6 separate regions of the Homo sapiens genome follow, and all the other regions are linked to region 2. Evidence: promoter capture Hi-C in 16 types of primary human blood cells and fetal thymus (Javierre and others, 2016). All regions are on one chromosome and are shown on one strand. The core of a region is centred on a gene start or on the middle of the fragment in contact, and the rest is flanking DNA. Distances in the headings are between cores, read along the strand shown. Region 1 overlaps EFCAB5 (EF-hand calcium binding domain 5). Region 2 holds the start of CORO6 (coronin 6). Region 3 overlaps SSH2 (slingshot protein phosphatase 2). Region 4 overlaps EFCAB5 (EF-hand calcium binding domain 5). Region 5 overlaps EFCAB5 (EF-hand calcium binding domain 5). Region 6 overlaps EFCAB5 (EF-hand calcium binding domain 5).

What was found. The method cuts DNA at HindIII sites, captures the fragments that hold promoters and counts their contacts. A CHiCAGO score of 5 or more calls a contact.
Region 1: a contact is called between a fragment that was not itself captured here and the fragment with the promoter of CORO6 in region 2, in 5 of 17 cell types (M2 macrophages, M1 macrophages, naive B cells and 2 more). The highest score is 6.8, in M2 macrophages.
Region 3: a contact is called between a fragment that was not itself captured here and the fragment with the promoter of CORO6 in region 2, in 1 of 17 cell types (fetal thymus). The highest score is 5.2, in fetal thymus.
Region 4: a contact is called between a fragment that was not itself captured here and the fragment with the promoter of CORO6 in region 2, in 1 of 17 cell types (endothelial precursors). The highest score is 5.3, in endothelial precursors.
Region 5: a fragment that was not itself captured here is called in contact with the fragment with the promoter of CORO6 in region 2 in 1 of 17 cell types (total B cells); the score reaches 6.0 in total B cells.
Region 6: a fragment that was not itself captured here is called in contact with the fragment with the promoter of CORO6 in region 2 in 1 of 17 cell types (M1 macrophages); the score reaches 5.8 in M1 macrophages.

The regions. Positions count from the first base shown.
Region 1 is chr17:29,996,621-29,999,417 of GRCh38, reverse strand. The region is part of intron 6 of EFCAB5 (EF-hand calcium binding domain 5); the gene reads right to left. Among named protein-coding and RNA genes, the nearest start is that of EFCAB5, 56 kb to the right of the region's middle. The HindIII fragment of the contact is 3,204 bases long and covers 1-2,797 here.
Region 2 is chr17:29,621,605-29,624,304 of GRCh38, reverse strand. CORO6 (coronin 6) reads left to right here and starts at 1,393. Exons shown (of 11, transcript NM_032854.4): 1 at 1,393-1,617. RefSeq lists an enhancer at 1-792 and a silencer at 1,580-1,729. The HindIII fragment of the contact is 1,950 bases long and covers 633-2,582 here.
Region 3 is chr17:29,919,192-29,921,891 of GRCh38, reverse strand. The region is part of intron 1 of SSH2 (slingshot protein phosphatase 2); the gene reads left to right. Among named protein-coding and RNA genes, the nearest start is that of SSH2, 9.7 kb to the left of the region's middle. The HindIII fragment of the contact is 2,904 bases long and covers 1-2,700 here.
Region 4 is chr17:29,941,922-29,944,846 of GRCh38, reverse strand. EFCAB5 (EF-hand calcium binding domain 5) reads right to left here. Exons shown (of 23, transcript NM_198529.4): 2 at 2,545-2,607; 3 at 1,198-1,282. Among named protein-coding and RNA genes, the nearest start is that of EFCAB5, 1.8 kb to the right of the region's middle. The HindIII fragment of the contact is 2,825 bases long and covers 1-2,690 here.
Region 5 is chr17:30,056,392-30,059,091 of GRCh38, reverse strand. It overlaps EFCAB5 (EF-hand calcium binding domain 5), which reads right to left. Exons shown (of 23, transcript NM_198529.4): 13 at 1,202-1,416. It also overlaps the pseudogene RNY4P13. Among named protein-coding and RNA genes, the nearest start is that of NSRP1, 59 kb to the left of the region's middle. The HindIII fragment of the contact is 852 bases long and covers 942-1,793 here.
Region 6 is chr17:29,975,330-29,978,159 of GRCh38, reverse strand. The region is part of intron 4 of EFCAB5 (EF-hand calcium binding domain 5); the gene reads right to left. Among named protein-coding and RNA genes, the nearest start is that of EFCAB5, 35 kb to the right of the region's middle. The HindIII fragment of the contact is 241 bases long and covers 1,367-1,607 here.

The sequences.
Region 1 (2,797 bases), core at 212-2,711, 380 kb before region 2:
CAGCACTCTCACTCCTTTCTGCCCCAGATGTAACCACTGTCAACAGTTTATCATCCTTCCAGCAACCTTTCTATGCATTTCTGTATGTATACAAATGTATATATATATACACATGTACCTTTTTTCTACTTATAAATATGATCATTTTGATGTGCAACTTGCTTTTTCATTTACCACTCATAGTAGCTTTTTTTCAAATAGGACCTGGGGCTCAGGGAAAGTTCGTAATGTGTATATAGATTGGGAGTCATCAGCTGCAGTCATGGACTTGAATAAGAAAACCCACAGAATGTGTATAGTGTGTATAGTGACAAGAAAGCCTAAAAGGAAACTCTGGAAAACAAAATTTAAGGTGCAAGCAAAAGAAGAGTCAAGAAACAAAAACACTAAAAGGTGACCAAAAATAGAAGAAAAAAATCAAGAGAATGATATCACAAAAACCAAGAAAAAAGAGTTTCATAAATTAGAGTGATCAGTAATGATGAATGTGACCGTTAGTTCAAATACAGATTTTTAAACCTTCATTTGATATGACAATTTATGTAATCCTTATTGACCTTACAAGAGAAAAATACATAAATTGTATGAAAGCTCATGATGAAAGAACTATACACTGGCTTCCTCTCCTACTTCTAATAGTAACTCTTCCTGCCTGTCATGGGTTGGCACAAGGGCATAGAAAAGATTTTTCAATCACTCTTGAATTTGGTAAGTGCTAATTATGAGATATCTGTTATTGTGGCCATAGGAAGGCTATATAAATTTTCATATAAACTTATGCATTAGATGCAGACATTTCCATCCCAGACCTTCCCCCAAGCTCCAGATGATTATGCAAACCAGACGTTTCTAGCAGTAACAGTTGCTATTAAGTATACCTGTCTGTCTGTCTCTGACTGGAGTTTGAGCAACTTAAGGGTAGGAAACATGTCTTGTCAGTCCTCTTTGCATTCTCTTACTCATTACAGTATCTGGAACTAAGTGAGGGCTCAATGAATATTGACCGAATGAATAGTACAGAAATAAATACTGTAGTATAGGAGGTGAGAGGAGAAACAATCACTGTCAGTTGGAATGCTCTGGAATTTCTGTAATTTTATCAGGATCCCAAATTGAGTTCTCTTAACTCACTCCTTCTGTACCCTCATTCAAAAATAAAGGAAGCTATTTCAATGATTTTTTGAAACAAGAGTAAAAGATGAGCTGACTGAAGAATTACGGTTTTTGGAAAATGTGAGAACAGGTAGAAGGACAAAAGGTTATCAGTAAGGCCCAAATCATGCTTGGAGATCAGTGATCAGGAAGACGGGAAGCATATTTTATTTTTAAAAGTGACAACAGACTTCAGACAATGTATTGTTGTCAATGTAACAAAAGTAGTCAAATAATCAATTGGAAAAAAATCTACTGGATATTAATTATGTAAATCTCAGGACCCAAACTCTAGTTCCTATGGGACAAGTGAGGTTTTTTTTTTTTTTCCACCTAATTTCATATAGGGAAATCTTTCTGAAAACAAAAGCACCAAAATCTGTGACTCTCCATAGGGGTGGTGCTGTCCTCCTTTCCTCCCAGGGAGCATGGTGGAAATTTTTGGGTGAATTTTTATTGCCACAGTGATGAGGAATAGGAGCAGAGGCAGAACACATGGAATTCTTGCACATAGACTTTCCCCCTTCTGCAGGACATTCAAGTAGATGAAAAACCTGATTATAATAATTTTGAACTTAGAACCCAACTCTATTTTACATATAAATGCAGAATATAATTTTGCTGTGGAATTTTCCAAGAATATAACTTATATGAAAATTTGAGGGAGAATTATACTTTGTTTAATTCTGGAACTTTACCAAGAGTTGTTCACCATTTCAGGACTTATGTAATAGGGAGTAATATAAATTGTATCTGAATTCTAATACAACACACCTGTGTCAGTCTGCATTTCTGGGAATTCTATATATATATATATATTCATTTTGCCCTATTCCAAAATGTCAAAAACAAATAAAATGGTCAACTGTATATAATTTTACTTCTCTTATATCTAAAGGTACATTATAAGTAGGTAGAAATGTCTGACTACTCTATTACGTCTTCTAGCGAAGTCGTAACAAAGCATTTATATATTGAAATACAGTGCATATAATTTTCTTTCTTTCTTTTTTTTTTTTTTTAGAAGGAGTCTCACTCTGTCACCCAGGCTGGAGTGCAGTGGCGTCACCTCGGCTCACTGCAACCTCCGCCTCCTGGGTTCAAGTGATTCTCCTGCCTCAGCCTCCCAAGTAACTGAGATTACGGACGCCCGCCACCATGCCCGGCTAATTTTTGTATTTTAGTAGAGACAGTCTTTCACTATGTTGGCCAGGCTGGTCTCAAACTCCTGACCTCAAATGATCCGCCCATCTCGGGCTCCCAAAGTGCTGGGATTACAGGCGTGAGCCACTGTGCCCGGCCTCTGAAGAAGTCTTAATCCTAGTATATATAGTAACAGAACTGGATGAGATTATCCAGGGAAATTTATGTAACATGAAAAGGGAACTCAAGAAACAACATTTGAGAAACAGAGAATGACCCCAGGAGGGTTATAGTGAAGGTGTAGGATATAAGACTGGGTAGAGTCAAGGAAATTCAAACTAAGGAATTTACGGAGGCAGTGTTCAACTCTGGTAAATATTAGCGTGAGCCACCATGCCTAGCCAGTGCATATAGTTTTCTTATGCCTTTACTTTTATTTCTCGTTTACATCACAGTTATGACATCATATCTTTCTTTTAAAATTCTATGTATGTAAGAAATA
Region 2 (2,700 bases), core at 144-2,643:
GCGACCAGCCTAGAGGATTGTTAAGAGTATGAAATTAATACGTATAAAGCCCTTAGTGCCAGTGCCTAGCACATAAGCATGGGTTATTGTTGTAAAGGAGCAACTGAGTCACTCAGGTATTTTCCTCCTAATCATGTGCCTGGAATCTTTAGGTAAAAGAGAGATGACTCACATACCCTCATACCCTGCCCCAGCACCCCTACGCCAGGAGTTATTTCTGGAGCACTCGTAACAGTTTTTTATTCTGTTCCCCTACAAGCCACTGACTCTTGATTTGATTCTGTCCCTACAAGCCACCTGGACTCTTCCTGAGAAACAAAGGAGCCTCGTGGGCCCTTCATGGTTTCTACCACCTTCCCTCCCTTTCCTCCCCAGTGCTGGTTCCTGCCCTTCAGAAGGCTGTGTTCCATTCACTCACTCCCAGGTGTGCCCTGGAGGGTGGGAAGTAATAACTGGCCCCAGATGCCCTTATGATCCAAGGGAAGAAATCCAGGCAATGTGCAGACACTGGGTAGACTGGAGCTACGGGACTGGCTGGTCTTCACTGGCTGTATTTTGATCAGGTTATCTTTAATCTCCTTGACCTCGGTCAACATTCAGTTCTGTGAATATTGGGGGAGACGGGGGAAGCTTACCTGGAACACAGTCGGGCGCCAATTCAAACAAGGCCCAGAAAACATTAGGAGTCTGGCCTCTGAGTTGGCTTCTCTGACCCCTAAAATGTGACTAGAGACCGGTGCTAGCCTCTTCCCCCTGCATCTGGGAGGGGAGGGAGTGTCAAGGTGGGTTCACTTTACACTCGGTCCTCCCCTTGTTCTTTCAGCTGCTTCCTGCCCTGCTCCATGGAATCTCATCTAATGGGGTGAAATGCCTAGCACACAGCCAGCATTTTAGGTTTCTCAAATGATCGCTATTGCCATTCATAACAATAACTAACATTCACAACCCTGTGTCGGGTGCCCTCTCACTTGCCCTACATCAGGATCAGCCTGGGTCCTCATTCTCTAGGGCCTCTTTCCCCCAGGGAGGCCTGGAAGTGCAGTCCCGCAGTCCCGGCCGATCGGGACAGCTAAATTGGGAGCGCGATTGAGGCTGGAATGCGGGTGGAGGCACCTGGTCTCCCTCGGCTGCCCGCTCTAGGGGCGCACGCCCCCTCGCCCGTTCCCTCTCCAAGCGTCCTGCTCTAGGTCTGCGAACCCGAGCCTCCCCAGCCTACCCGGGAGTCATGGAGGGAGGGAAGCAGCGTGCGCACCTAGCACACAGCTGCACATTTATTTTCGATGGTTCTCCGAGGCCGGCGGAAGCTGGGAGGGGAGTCGGGGTCGCTCGACTTTCCCGCCGCTGGAGGGGGCGGGGCAACTTGGGCTCTGGCCCCGCCCCTATGCTAGCCCCGCCCTCTTAGGTTGATGGCAGCGGCAGCTGGGGCTGCAGCGGCGCCGGGCTCTAGAGAGCCGCAGGATCGGCCAGAGTGCGGAGCTGGACACCCGGGTCCCAGATACTACAGACACCCGGAGAGGTGGCTCCTTCGCCCTGAAGCCTTCCTCGGCCCCCTACGCACTCGGGCCCCTTCCGCAGAGGATTCGCAGCGTGAGCGCCCCGCAGCCCGCTCAGGACCAGGTACCCAGCCCCCCACACCCGGCCGTCACCGCAGCCAGCGGAGCGGGCGGGGTCCCTGAGGGGCAGAGGTCTGCGCCTCCTCCCCCCGCGCCGCCAAATTCGGTTTCGGGCGGGGAGGACGTGGTGTCTATATTTGGCCGGACAGCAGCCAGCGCTCCCGGAGGGCGCAGACACCTCGTCTCGCAAGAACGCAGTGTCAGGGCAGCAGGCTGAAGAAGGGTGCAGGGAGGCCGGGCCTCAGGCTCGGGGCCGCAGACGCGCCTTGAAGGGCACACGGATGCTGGGGCTGGGGTGGGGCAGGAGCCACTGGCTGGGGCTTTGGGAGTGCTCAGTGTGTCCTCTAGGGAGACCCTAGCTGGAGAAAAGGCACCTCACCCTCCCCACCCCTGCAAATCTGGCTTGGCCGTGGCGGGGGCAGGGGTGGAGGATGGGGTTGAAGACCCCACCCCTAGAAGAGTTCACTAGGAAGAAGGCCCAACCAGGGCAGAGGACCCAGAGGAGAAACCGGACAAGCCTATGGTAGGCAAAAGCCAGAAGACCATGATCAGGGCTTCCTGGAGAAGCCAGTGCAGAAAGGAGTGGGAGAAGAGGGATCCACCTCACTCTGTGCTGCCACCCGTCCCCCCACAAGGCATGGGATGAAAACAGTAGCAGAAAGGACTCAGATTGGTGGACAGGAGGAACTTCCCCCTTGGCAAAATTTTAGGAAAAGGCAAAACCCCATCTGCCTGAACTATTCCAGAGATGCGAGTTCGGTATCCTGTGGTGGCTGCAGTCTTGGCCCCATACCTGGCTTTAAGCCAAGATCCAATGGTCAAGTCTTCTGCTTCTGGACAGGGTGCCTCTGGGAGCTACAACCACGTCCGTGAAGAGATGCTCATCAAGGCTGGCGGTGGTGGGGGCGGGGGGTGCAGGCAGTGTGGCATTGAGGCTCCTCCCAAAAACATTCCAACGTCCAGAAAGCTTTCAGTCTGTTAGGCTCCACAATCCCCTCAGCCTGGGTCTCTGTGGAGAATTCAGGCCCCAAATCCTAGCCACTTACATTAAACAGCATTTTACACAGCAAAATAACTTTCCCATACT
Region 3 (2,700 bases), core at 51-2,550, 300 kb before region 2:
ACATATTTTTGTATTATCAGAGCTCAAAAGTATTTGACGCATGGGGCTGGGCGCGGTGGCTCACTACTGTAATCCCAGCACTTTGGGAGGTTGAGGCAGGCAGATCACCTGAGGTCGGGAGTTTGAGACCAGCCTACTAAATATACAAAAATTAGCCAGATGCGGTGGTGGATGCCTGTAATCCCAGCTACTCCTACTGAGGCAGGAGAATCGCTTGAACCCGGGAGGCAGAGGTTGCAGTGAGCCAAGACCTCGCCATAGCACTCCAGCCTGGGCAATAAGAATGAAACTCCCTCTTAAAAAAAAAAAGTATTTGACACATGGATCAATGGATGATCAACAGATATAGTCATATTTAGCAATCTTCTATTTTGAGTTCTTCTACTGTTTTTAAGCATAGACAGATATCTTGAGAAGCCCAAAGGATATGATCACTTTTAAGACTTTTGATACATGTTGCCAAATTATCCAGCAGAAAGGTTGAATCAATCTTTGTTTACAAGCATTGTATAAAAATGTTTAAGTGTAGTCTCACAGCCTTAAGTAGCATCATCATCATAGGGATATTTATTGAACACTTACTGTATACTAGACACTGTGTTGAGTACCTTTTGTGCCTCATGTTGCTTAATTTTCACATCACTCCTGTGGCGTAAGCATTGTTATTCTCTTGATTTTACCAAGAAAATACAGACTCAGATAAGTGAAGTGAATTGTCCAGGATTATAGGCCTGGTGTCTGACCTCACAACCCCTTCTCTTAATCACTAGTATTTTATTGTTGTTTTAATTTACATTTTTAAAAATTAGAGGCTAAACATTTTTTCAAATATTTACTATTATATGTTTTATTATATATTCCTTGTTTTGTAAATCGTTCATGTTCTTTGCCCAGCTTTCTTCATGGCTATTTACTTTTTCATATTGATGTGTAAGTATTCTTTATATACTAAGAATATTAACCTTTTTCTGTTATGTTGCAAATTTTCCTCTGGTTTTTCATTTGCCATTTTGTTTTGTTTATTTCATTCATTTGTATATACAGACATTTACAAAATTTTAATGCCATCAATCCAGTCTTGTGTGTGGGTTTTTAAAATTATTTTTCTTAGTTCACTTTTCCGTCAATAAGGATAGAAATATTCTACTTATTGAAAAAATTTAGACCTATATGTTTTAAAGCTATTTATAGTATTATTTTTATATCTTTTAATTGTCTGAAATTAATTTTACTACATGATGTGAAGTAAGGATTATGTTTATTTTATTCCAAATAGCAGCTTTTCTTAGTTCATTATATGAAACAGTCACTCCTTTTTTCCAATGGTGTGGAACTCCTCCTTGGGAAGTACTAAATTCCCAAATACTTAATTCAGGTATAAGGTGTTCCATAGAAGTTCCATTGCAAGTCTCATAGGAATTTAGTTAGTTTAGCATATATTACTTAGTATTTATTAAATTGCATGCATAGAAAATAAACTTTAAACTAGCTTACATTTTGAATTTTCACTCAAGTACCTGGGAAGCCCAGAAAAAGAGAAGGCCTTTGGTCCTCAAAAAGTATCTTCAGGTTTCTCATCTTTCCTATCCGGCTTTAAGTGAGAGGGAGCAGTTTCTAGATTATGCTCACGCTGAAAAAGACACTGTGCAGCACTGCCTTCCTAGGTTTCACCATTAAATATCACTCCTGATAGCTGGGCGCGGTGGCTCATGCCTGTAATCCCAGCACTTTGGGAGGCTGAGGTGGGCAGATAAGGTCGGCAGTTCGAGACCAGCCTGACCAACATGGAGAAACCCTGTCTCTACTAACAATACAAAATTAGCTGAGTGTGGTGGCGCATGCCTGTAATCCCAGCTACTCGGGAGGCTGAGGCAGAATGGTTTGAACCTGGGAGGCGGAGGTTGTGGTGAGCTGAGATCACGCCATTGCACTCCAGCCTGGGCAACAAGAGGGAAACTCCGTCTCAGAAAATAAATAAATAAATAAATCACTCCTGGTTTCAGCAGCTTAAGATTTACTGTTTTTCCATTAAATGCCTGCTGTAGTGTTGTCTGCAGCAGTGCCTAGCCTTTTGAAGCTATTCACATGTCCATGTTTTATGTTTATTTGTTAATCCATTAAAAAAAAAAAACACCTAGCTGTAGTTTTTCCATTCAGTAAACCTAGTAGTAGGGAAAGTATTTCCAATTAAAAAAAAAAAAAGTGTAATTCTTGATGAGCCCCTTTGCCCAACCTGAAATATGCCAGAGGCTGGATGTACATGAGTAAAACCTTAAGAATCTTGTTAATCAGAAGTATTTAGTGAGTGCTATTTTGTGCAGGTGATCTCATACATTCCCTTCCTTTGTTTCTCAGCACTGAGTTCTCTTCAGATACCTTTATAAACTACCCTGCATTTTCTTGCCCATCTGAGCAGCAAAGCTACTGATCACAGTGCCCCTCATTTTCCTCTCAAGGTAAAGTCTGGTGAGGTACTCGTGGCTCTGAAATGTAATGAAAGGTCCCATGGTTCCCTAGACTTCCTGAAAGATAGAGGGAAGTACTTCATTTATTGAGTGGGAAAGGATGTGCTTAGAAACAGATGGGGAGAGATAATACTCTGTTCCAGCTTAGTTTTTATGGAACTGTTTGATTTAATTTTCTGAAAAACTTATTTAGTACCTTTTTTGTGTCTGAGACATATTTATTTACTTACTCATT
Region 4 (2,925 bases), core at 29-2,528, 320 kb before region 2:
GTTTGAGACCAGCCTGGCCAACATTGGGAAACCCCATCTCTATTAAAAATACAAACTTAGCCGGGTGTGATGGCACGTGCTTGTAATCCCAGCTACTCGGGAGGCTGAGGCTGGAGAATCGCTTGAACCCGGGAGGCTGAGGTTGCAGTGAGCCGAGATTGCACCATTGCACTCTGCCCTGGGCAACAAGCGCAAAACTTCGTCTCAAAAAAAAAAAAACAAAACAAAACAGAAAACAACAAAAAAACAACAACAAAACCCAAAAACAATAAACAGGGCCAAGGACAATAAGCAGCCCAAATCACTGGAGTTCTTCATTTTATTATTGTATTAGTGGGTTGCCTGCTAGATGTCAGTCAGCTTTCTTAGATAAATTTTCTCTTTAAGTGCAAGATGAATAATCATAAATTGCCTCAAAAGCATTAATAGAAGGTGAATGAAATACATTTTAAATTGTTTCCCAAACTGCATTTAAAATACCCTCTGGCCTATAATCTCAGTGACTCTGGAGGCTGAGACAGGAGGATCGCCTGAGTCCAGGAGATCGAGACCAGCCCAGGAAACATAGCAAGAAATTCTCTCTACAAAAATAAAAAATAAAAAACTAGCTAGGTGAGGTAATGTGTGCCCATAGTCCCAGCAACTCTGGAGGCTGAGATAGGAGGATCACTTGAACCCAGGACTTTGAATCTGCAGTGAACTATGACCGTGTCACTGAACTTCAGTCTAGGTACAGGGCAAGATCCATCTCTAAAAATAAAAATAAAATAAAATATCCCCTGAAATTATATCTTTAAAATGCAAAATCTTGAAGAACGCATCCCCAGTAAAATGTTAATGATAGTTTTAGATTCTTTTATTTATTTATTTTTTTGAGATGGAGTTTCGCTCTGTCACCCAGGCTGGAGTGCAATCCACGAGCTTGGCTCACTGCAACCCCCACCTCCCTGTTCACGCAATTCTCCTGCCTCAGCCTCCAGAGTAGCTGGGATTACAGGCACCCGCCACTATGCCCAGCTAATTTTTTGTATTTTTAGAAGAGATGGTGTTTCACCATGTTGGCCAGGCTGGTTTCGAACTCCTGACCTCTGATGATCCACCCGCCTCGGCCTCCCAAAGTGCTGGAATTACAGGCATGAGCCACCACGCCCAGCCAGTTTTAGATTCTATTGTATAAGAGAAAGGCTAGTTCTCTACCTTGGGATTTGATTTCATCCATTGCTTTCTCCACCACACTGTTGGTGTCCTCTTTTACAGGAACGTCTGGCACACTCTGTAAGGTCTTTGAAAAGAGGAAAAAAATCACCAATTTCAATGTGACTTGATTTTCAACAAAGTTGTATAAATTATTCCAATTAAAGGAAAGTTAATTGCTTTGTAAGAGTTAACCAAACATTCCTAGTTAATTTTTCTGGGATCTAATGCTGTATATTAGAAGCAAAGAGGTAATCACAGTGTATTTTCTGCATTTACAAGATAAAATGTGTTGGTTCAAAATGTCATCACATCTTCCTGTTACTAACAAAGTAATATGCTAGGAATATCATTTTAGATGTACATTAATTCTTGAATTATACAATAGTTTATAGAAACATGATTTGAGACCATAGCATAAGGAAATCAGACCTTTGGAAATGCTACTGTTTTACTACTAGAATCACTTTCTGTATTTGTGGCAAAAAGAAAAAGCATTTAATCTTAATTGAGGAAATTAAAGATTAATTTTATGAATAGCAACAAAATAGTTTTTGTATACATGCTAATGTACTTTAAAAATCTGACTATATATATATATATATATATATTTTGGAGATGCAGTTTCACTCTGTTGCCCAGGCTGGAGTGCAGTGGCATGATCTCGGCTCACTGCAACCTCCGCCTCCTGGGTTAAAGTGATTATCTTGCCTTGGCCTTTCAAGTTGCTAGGATTACACGCATGCACCACCAAGCCCAGATAATTTTTGTATTATTAGTAGAGATGGAGTTTCGCTATGTTGGCCAGTCCGGTCTTGAACTCCTGACCTCAAGTGATCCACCTCGGTCTCCCAGAGTGCTGGGATTACAAGTGTGAGCCATCGACAATCAATAGGATATTTTAAAAACTCATATTAGTCAACTCACTTGTGAATCTATAGGACTATTTTTAATTGCCTCCCCTTTTCTATGAAACGTTCTTCTTTATTGTAGCCTTGTATTTATTTAAACACAAAGTTACTTAAATGATTAACCTGGAAATTACATTTTCAGCATGATAGTAAAGTGACCCTAAAAGCTGGTGGTTACAGTTTTTAGGGTAACTTTAGAAAGCAGTCTTTATTTATCTGTAATTTATAACAGTTCTTCACAAATAATTTACCTGTCCATGGAAGTTTCCTGCAACTTACTCAAATGAATCAGCTTAATAATCAACATGAGTTTGTCCTTTTCCTTTTGCAATTTTAGTTATCTTTTTGAATACCCACATCTTTTCTTTTATCATAAGAAAATTGATTTATCTAGCTTATTCTCCAGCATTAATATCTGATTTATTCATGCCAACTCTACCTCATGAAGCTCTTTCACTTCAGTTAAGTTCCATTTCCTCTCTTTGTCTTCTTTTCTGTTTTCCTGAAATGCAAACAGTGTTAGTAAATGGCATCCAAAAAGAGCTGTGGATTAAACTACTGTCTCATACTTTAATACAGTAAGCTTTTAATTTTTAAAAATTTCACATAATGAGTAAATATCATGTGAAATAAAATTACACAAAGTAGTTGTATCAACAAATTCAAACAATAACAGACTTTTATATATAGTCAAGGAATGCCAACCAACTAGAAGCAGGTCGCCATGACTCAACTGTTATTTTGACCCCTTTTACAGCATTTCTGTCAAAACCTGATGCAGAATACTTCAACCAAAAAGAGAAATAATTAAATGATAGAC
Region 5 (2,700 bases), core at 118-2,617, 430 kb before region 2:
TGGTATACAACCTCCCACTGCTAACCTTGACTGGCTTTGAAGAAAAAAAATAACAGCAGGCATTCTCTGCATTAGTATTCCTTAAGAATCCTTTTTTTTTTTTTTCAAATTTATTCTACAAACCTTAAGAATCTTTGACCATTCTTTTCCACTCCTTCTCTAGTTGTTCAGGAATGTGATAAATACACAGACTGTATTTTAAAATTATTATTATTTTTATTTAGAGACAGAGTCTTGCTATGTCACCCAGGATGGAATAGAGTGGCATAATTACAGTTCACTGTAACTTCAAATTCCTGAGCCCAAGAGATTTTCCCTCCTCAGCCTCCCAAAGCACTGGAATTACAAGCATAAGCCACTGCAGCTGGCCCTAAGGGATATGTTTTGAGTGAAGGGGAATGAATGGCAGTGTTTAAATAATGAAAAATGGCTGTGTTTTAAAAATTCTTTTTTTATATTTAAGATTGACTATATTTGACATTAATTTTATTTATCTTTTAGAGTTTTCACTAGGTTAATTATATTAGTGAGATAGTAATTGAATTAATATCTAGATAGATATAATTGCAAAAATAAAATGAATATACACCTTTTGATTTAGTAGGAAGAACTGGAATTGAGAAGGTAAAGGGAATTGTCTAGAATTAGGTTGAAAAGACTCATAAGGCTGATGATTACTGAATAAGCTTAGTGAAAGTAATTTACATATTTCATATGAGAGAATAAATTGTTTATATAAGCTAATGTGTATGCACTTACCTGTCACCCAAGTAAGTAGTAAGTTCTTAGGAAATATGTACTACCTGGGTGCTCATGAGTAAAAATATATACTCAGGCCATAATCATACCCCAGGTGTGTGTACTTGTAAAGACACTCACACACAGGCAAATAATGCACATACACATCTTTGCATATATCCATATCTGCTTCTCAAAAAGCTTCAGAGAAAGAATAAAGCTGTACAATAAACCATCTCCTGCTAGGAGCAATCATGTTATTATTAGGGGAATGAGTTCTCTGGAGTGTGATCTTAGAATATTTGATGATAAAATAGAATCTTTAATGGCTATGCTTGTTGAAAGAAAGTGATCAGTTTGGTTGTACATTTTTTAACACGAGCCACATCGGGAGCAACTGAGGTTGAGAGATTTACTTATAATAGTGACCTCACTTGTATCATTAATAAATAATATTACCCACCTGTTCTAAGGCATTCATTTTCTCTTGTTCTGTTTCAACATAGCCCTCCTTAAAAAAGGAGGTGAGAGTCTCGCTGACACTCAAGGGAGCGTCTTCACCAACAAATGTCTCCAGGAGTTGCACAAACTGGAGCAGATTGAATGAAACTCCATTGAAGGCAGTTCTGCCTTTTACCTCCTTGCAAGACTGAATATTTCTGATAATTGAGTGTAAATCTGTCAAGCAAGAAACATTACCAAGCAGTAAAGTGAACAATTTTTTCAGTTAGGGAAAATAAATGAGTGCCTATTGTAATGAATATCTGCCATTTTTGACTGTCAGGAATCCATGCTTCCTTCATGAGGACAGCATCCTCCTTTTTTCTTTGGAAAAACATCTCTCCATTGTCAGTTCAGATGAGTCAGGTCATACTGTGCCTCCCACTTTTGTGCCATGGATGGTCATGTGATATACATCTGGCTAACAATTCATATATGATAGCAATGTAACCTACTATAGGCCAATGAGAGTTAGCCTCAGAACTTTTGGAAGAACTATTAGGGACGAATCACTCTTTTTGTACTCTGATTGCTGAACTAGTAGAGTATAAGCTTAGAGATGCTTTCATGGCCATTTTTGTCACAACATGGAGAAAACTGTCTCAATTGAAAGTGACACAGAAAAACAGGGCTTAGAGGAAGACAGACAGTATCCTGCTGCTATTGTTGAGCCTTTGAATCTAGTTGTGCCTGAAAACAGCTGCACGCTGAACTTTCTAGTTAAACAAATTACTAAATACCACCACCACAACTCCTTCTTCCAAAAGCCTTGGCTAATATATTTACCTTTTAGCTCAATAGTACAGTATGAAGTATATTTCATAAAATGTCAGCAAAGTGACTTCCGTTTGATTTATTCATTGATTCAATCATTCATGCCCTTATACCTTCTATATGAGATTTGATGTGATTAAAAAAAATGATTACTCACAATTTTTACATATATTGGTAAAGCAAAATTGATATAAAGATGACTAAGAAGAAGAACATGAACTAGCAGGCTGCAAGAGGTTGACCAATGCCATGCATTTTCACCAGAAAATTTGAGGATAGAAAGTTTGTTATTTGAGGCTTAAATGAGAGAAAAATTTGCAGGTAGGAAGAAGATAATCTTGATCTAATTTAGTTCTACAACTTGTTGATGTGAAAGGCAAAACAATATAGTAGCATTTTAGTGAAATATGAGTGCTTTTGGAACAATCATTTTAAAGACATGCTTTGTCTGAAAGCCAGAAACTACTCTGCTCTGTTGAGTAGATCTTTCTTTGCAAGTCTTCAAAAACAAGATAGATTCTCACTTGTCTCATATGTTTAGATGTGGCCCTACCAGGTAAAGGAATAGCTGAAATGATTTCTATTGAGTTTTAGTATCTAATGTCTGATTTTCTCTGTATGCTTAGATCATAGCTTTAAAGCAGTGGTAGGGCCATATCATGGTTAAAAAATGGGTACTAATGCCAT
Region 6 (2,830 bases), core at 238-2,737, 350 kb before region 2:
CATGGCTCAGTAAATGGGTGGCAGCTGGTGTAGAATATGAGCAGACAGCTGTCTAGGAAGCCACTGTCTCCTGGCAACTCAGGAAGACCCATATCAAGGATGAAACATTCCCTCTGTCTTGCCAAATCCTACTGCTGGCATCTTGTAAGGATGAGTAAGATATTTTGAAGCTTTTTTTAAAAAAAATACAAAAAGTACTTTGAAGCAGATTTCAGAACTCTGCAAATAACACATTCCAATAGAAACACACACAATAGATTTTTGTCACATAGTTTACATAAATTCTTTGAACACTACACGACTTAATATGCAAGAAATTAATAAAATAAAGGCCTGTGTCCCTCGCTTCTTGAAATTTTACTTGGTTTGTGTATCCTTAAGGCTTGAATATTTATACTAACTTGGTCTTCTCTTGTATGTAGCTGTGGTAGAGAAAGTAATTCTTTGAAATACCTCTTTGTGTTTCTCTCTCTTTATGGATTAAATGTTCCATCATTAATGCATAAAGCTAATAAAGAGGAGTCACAGGAAAAATGCCCAAAAGATATCTCAAACTGCAACACAGACCCCATAGTGAATATGCAATTATCAGAGATCACTACCAAGGCAGAACTGGGTATGCATTATACAGGAAAAGATACAAGCTTCTGTTTGGGGTCTCTTAGATCTACTTTCCGGTTCATTTGAACTCATTCTAGGTTATTATGGTTCAAGACTAGTTGAGAAAAGAGAGGAAATTTGTAGTAAAGTAGAATAGTCTGAAATTCTAACATTAACAGTTTTCTTTTTTTACTGCTTAAAAGTTTTATATTTTAAAAAATATCATACAGTAAAATTTACCTTCTTTGGCACATAGTTTTATGAATTTTAACATATATGAGTATGTGTAACCACCATCATAATTAGGCTATTGAAAGTTTGTAATCCTATTTTAGGAGCAAATATTTTTCATTATCAATTCATAATAAGGTGGTAATGACCTTCAAATATGCAATCCCAAACACTGGAGAAATCAAGAGTCAGAGGGAAAAGATACTTTTTACAAAGCATACTAAAAGAAAAGAAAATATGAAGAAAAGTGAATGATACAAACTTAACCTACTTTACAGTTGTCCAAAATTGCACGTAAGAATTAAAGTCCACTTTAATTCTATATCTATGTCTTTCAAGAGCCCCAATGAAAAGTAGTAAATTACATTGCACATATAAAACCTACAAACAGCAGTGATACTGTATTTTTCAGATATAGTGGCTACCACTATAAAAATTGTTCCAAATAAGTAAGCAGTGTCTTCTCTATCTGTTGTTTTTAGAGACCTAACAGAGATGAATCCCTTTTGTCGTAGAAAGTAGGCAGACAAAAGCTTTTTGGATCAAGCTGAAGCAAATGAACACTTAAACATTACCACAAGAAGATAGAGTCTCATTAAAACAAATACATTTTCTTTTGACTTTTTTTCTTGGCTATAATTCAGGAAAATTTCATTCCTAAAGTGAATGGACTTTTCTAAGGCTTTGCAATGGATTGAAGGTAACACAAACAATGGTATAGTTCTGAGAATTTCAAAGCAGGACTGTTTTTACTAATATTGCTGGGTATATAAGCTTTAAGTCGATAGGGATTAGGAGCAGAACACACTGTTGTAAAACATCCTTAGGATTTCTGAATATTCTACAAATGCCTGACACTGTCATCTGTTGACATACAGATCTTGGATTTCTGCCAGAAAAAGATGAAGCCCCAATTCTAACAATCCAGGTAAACAAAGCAACTTTGATTATTTCATGAAATTCCTGCTCCAATAGAGCAACCTTTAACTAAAACTTTTACCAAGCCTCAAATGACCCTAAGAAGTCAAACTCCCAGTTCAAGAAATATCAGTGAAACAACCTAATTCTCCTGTGTCATGGAACCCAATGTCCTAGTGTGCTTATTACTATCTTATTATAGACATTAATAAATGTCTAGAGTTTTACATACCCATTGAGATTTACATATCTGTAACAAGAGGAAGTGTTTGTCAATATATTTGTTTACAGACAAAATCAGTTCACAGATTGTAAGTATTTTTAGTGGAAATAGATCTAAATACAGTCTAATTTATTGCACTGCAAGAACAGATGGTGAGCAGAAATGTTCCTTAAGGTATTTATTAAATTTAATGAAACTGCTTCCTGCATACTACTGGAAGTTTTCACTAGTACTAAACCTCTCTTAATTTGTTTTCTTTTTAATTTGGTCTTGAAACTTTAGTGTGCAATAATAACCTCTTATGGAACTTGTTTTAAATGCATTCCTAGAGGTTCTGATTCAGAAGATCTGAGGAAGGATCTAGGAATCTGCACTTTTAACCAAGCACCCCAGGTGATTCTGGTGTCACTGATAGACAACCATGATCTTAGAAAGCCTGTTTCAACTGAAAATAAAAATTTCATAACCACACATAAAACAAGAGTTCTGCACATATCTCTTACTTTATCCCAGAGGGATATCTGTGCCTAATTCCAAAAGAATTACTATTCTAAAGCTTCTAATTAGTTGTTTACCCTATAGGAAAGACACTAAAACAAGTCAAAAGAAATTATAAATTTGAGTGTAGGTGGGCCAGGTGTGGTGGCTCACGCCTGTAATTCCAGCACTTTGGGAGGCCGAGGTGGGTAGATCACCTGAGGTCAGGAGTTCGAGACCAGCCTGGCCAACATGGTGAAACCCCATCTCTACTTAAAATACAAAAAATTAGCTGGGCATGGTGGTACGCACCTGTAATCCCAGCTACTCGGGAGGCTGAGGCAGGAGAATCGCTGCCGGGAGGCGGAGGTTGCAGTGAGC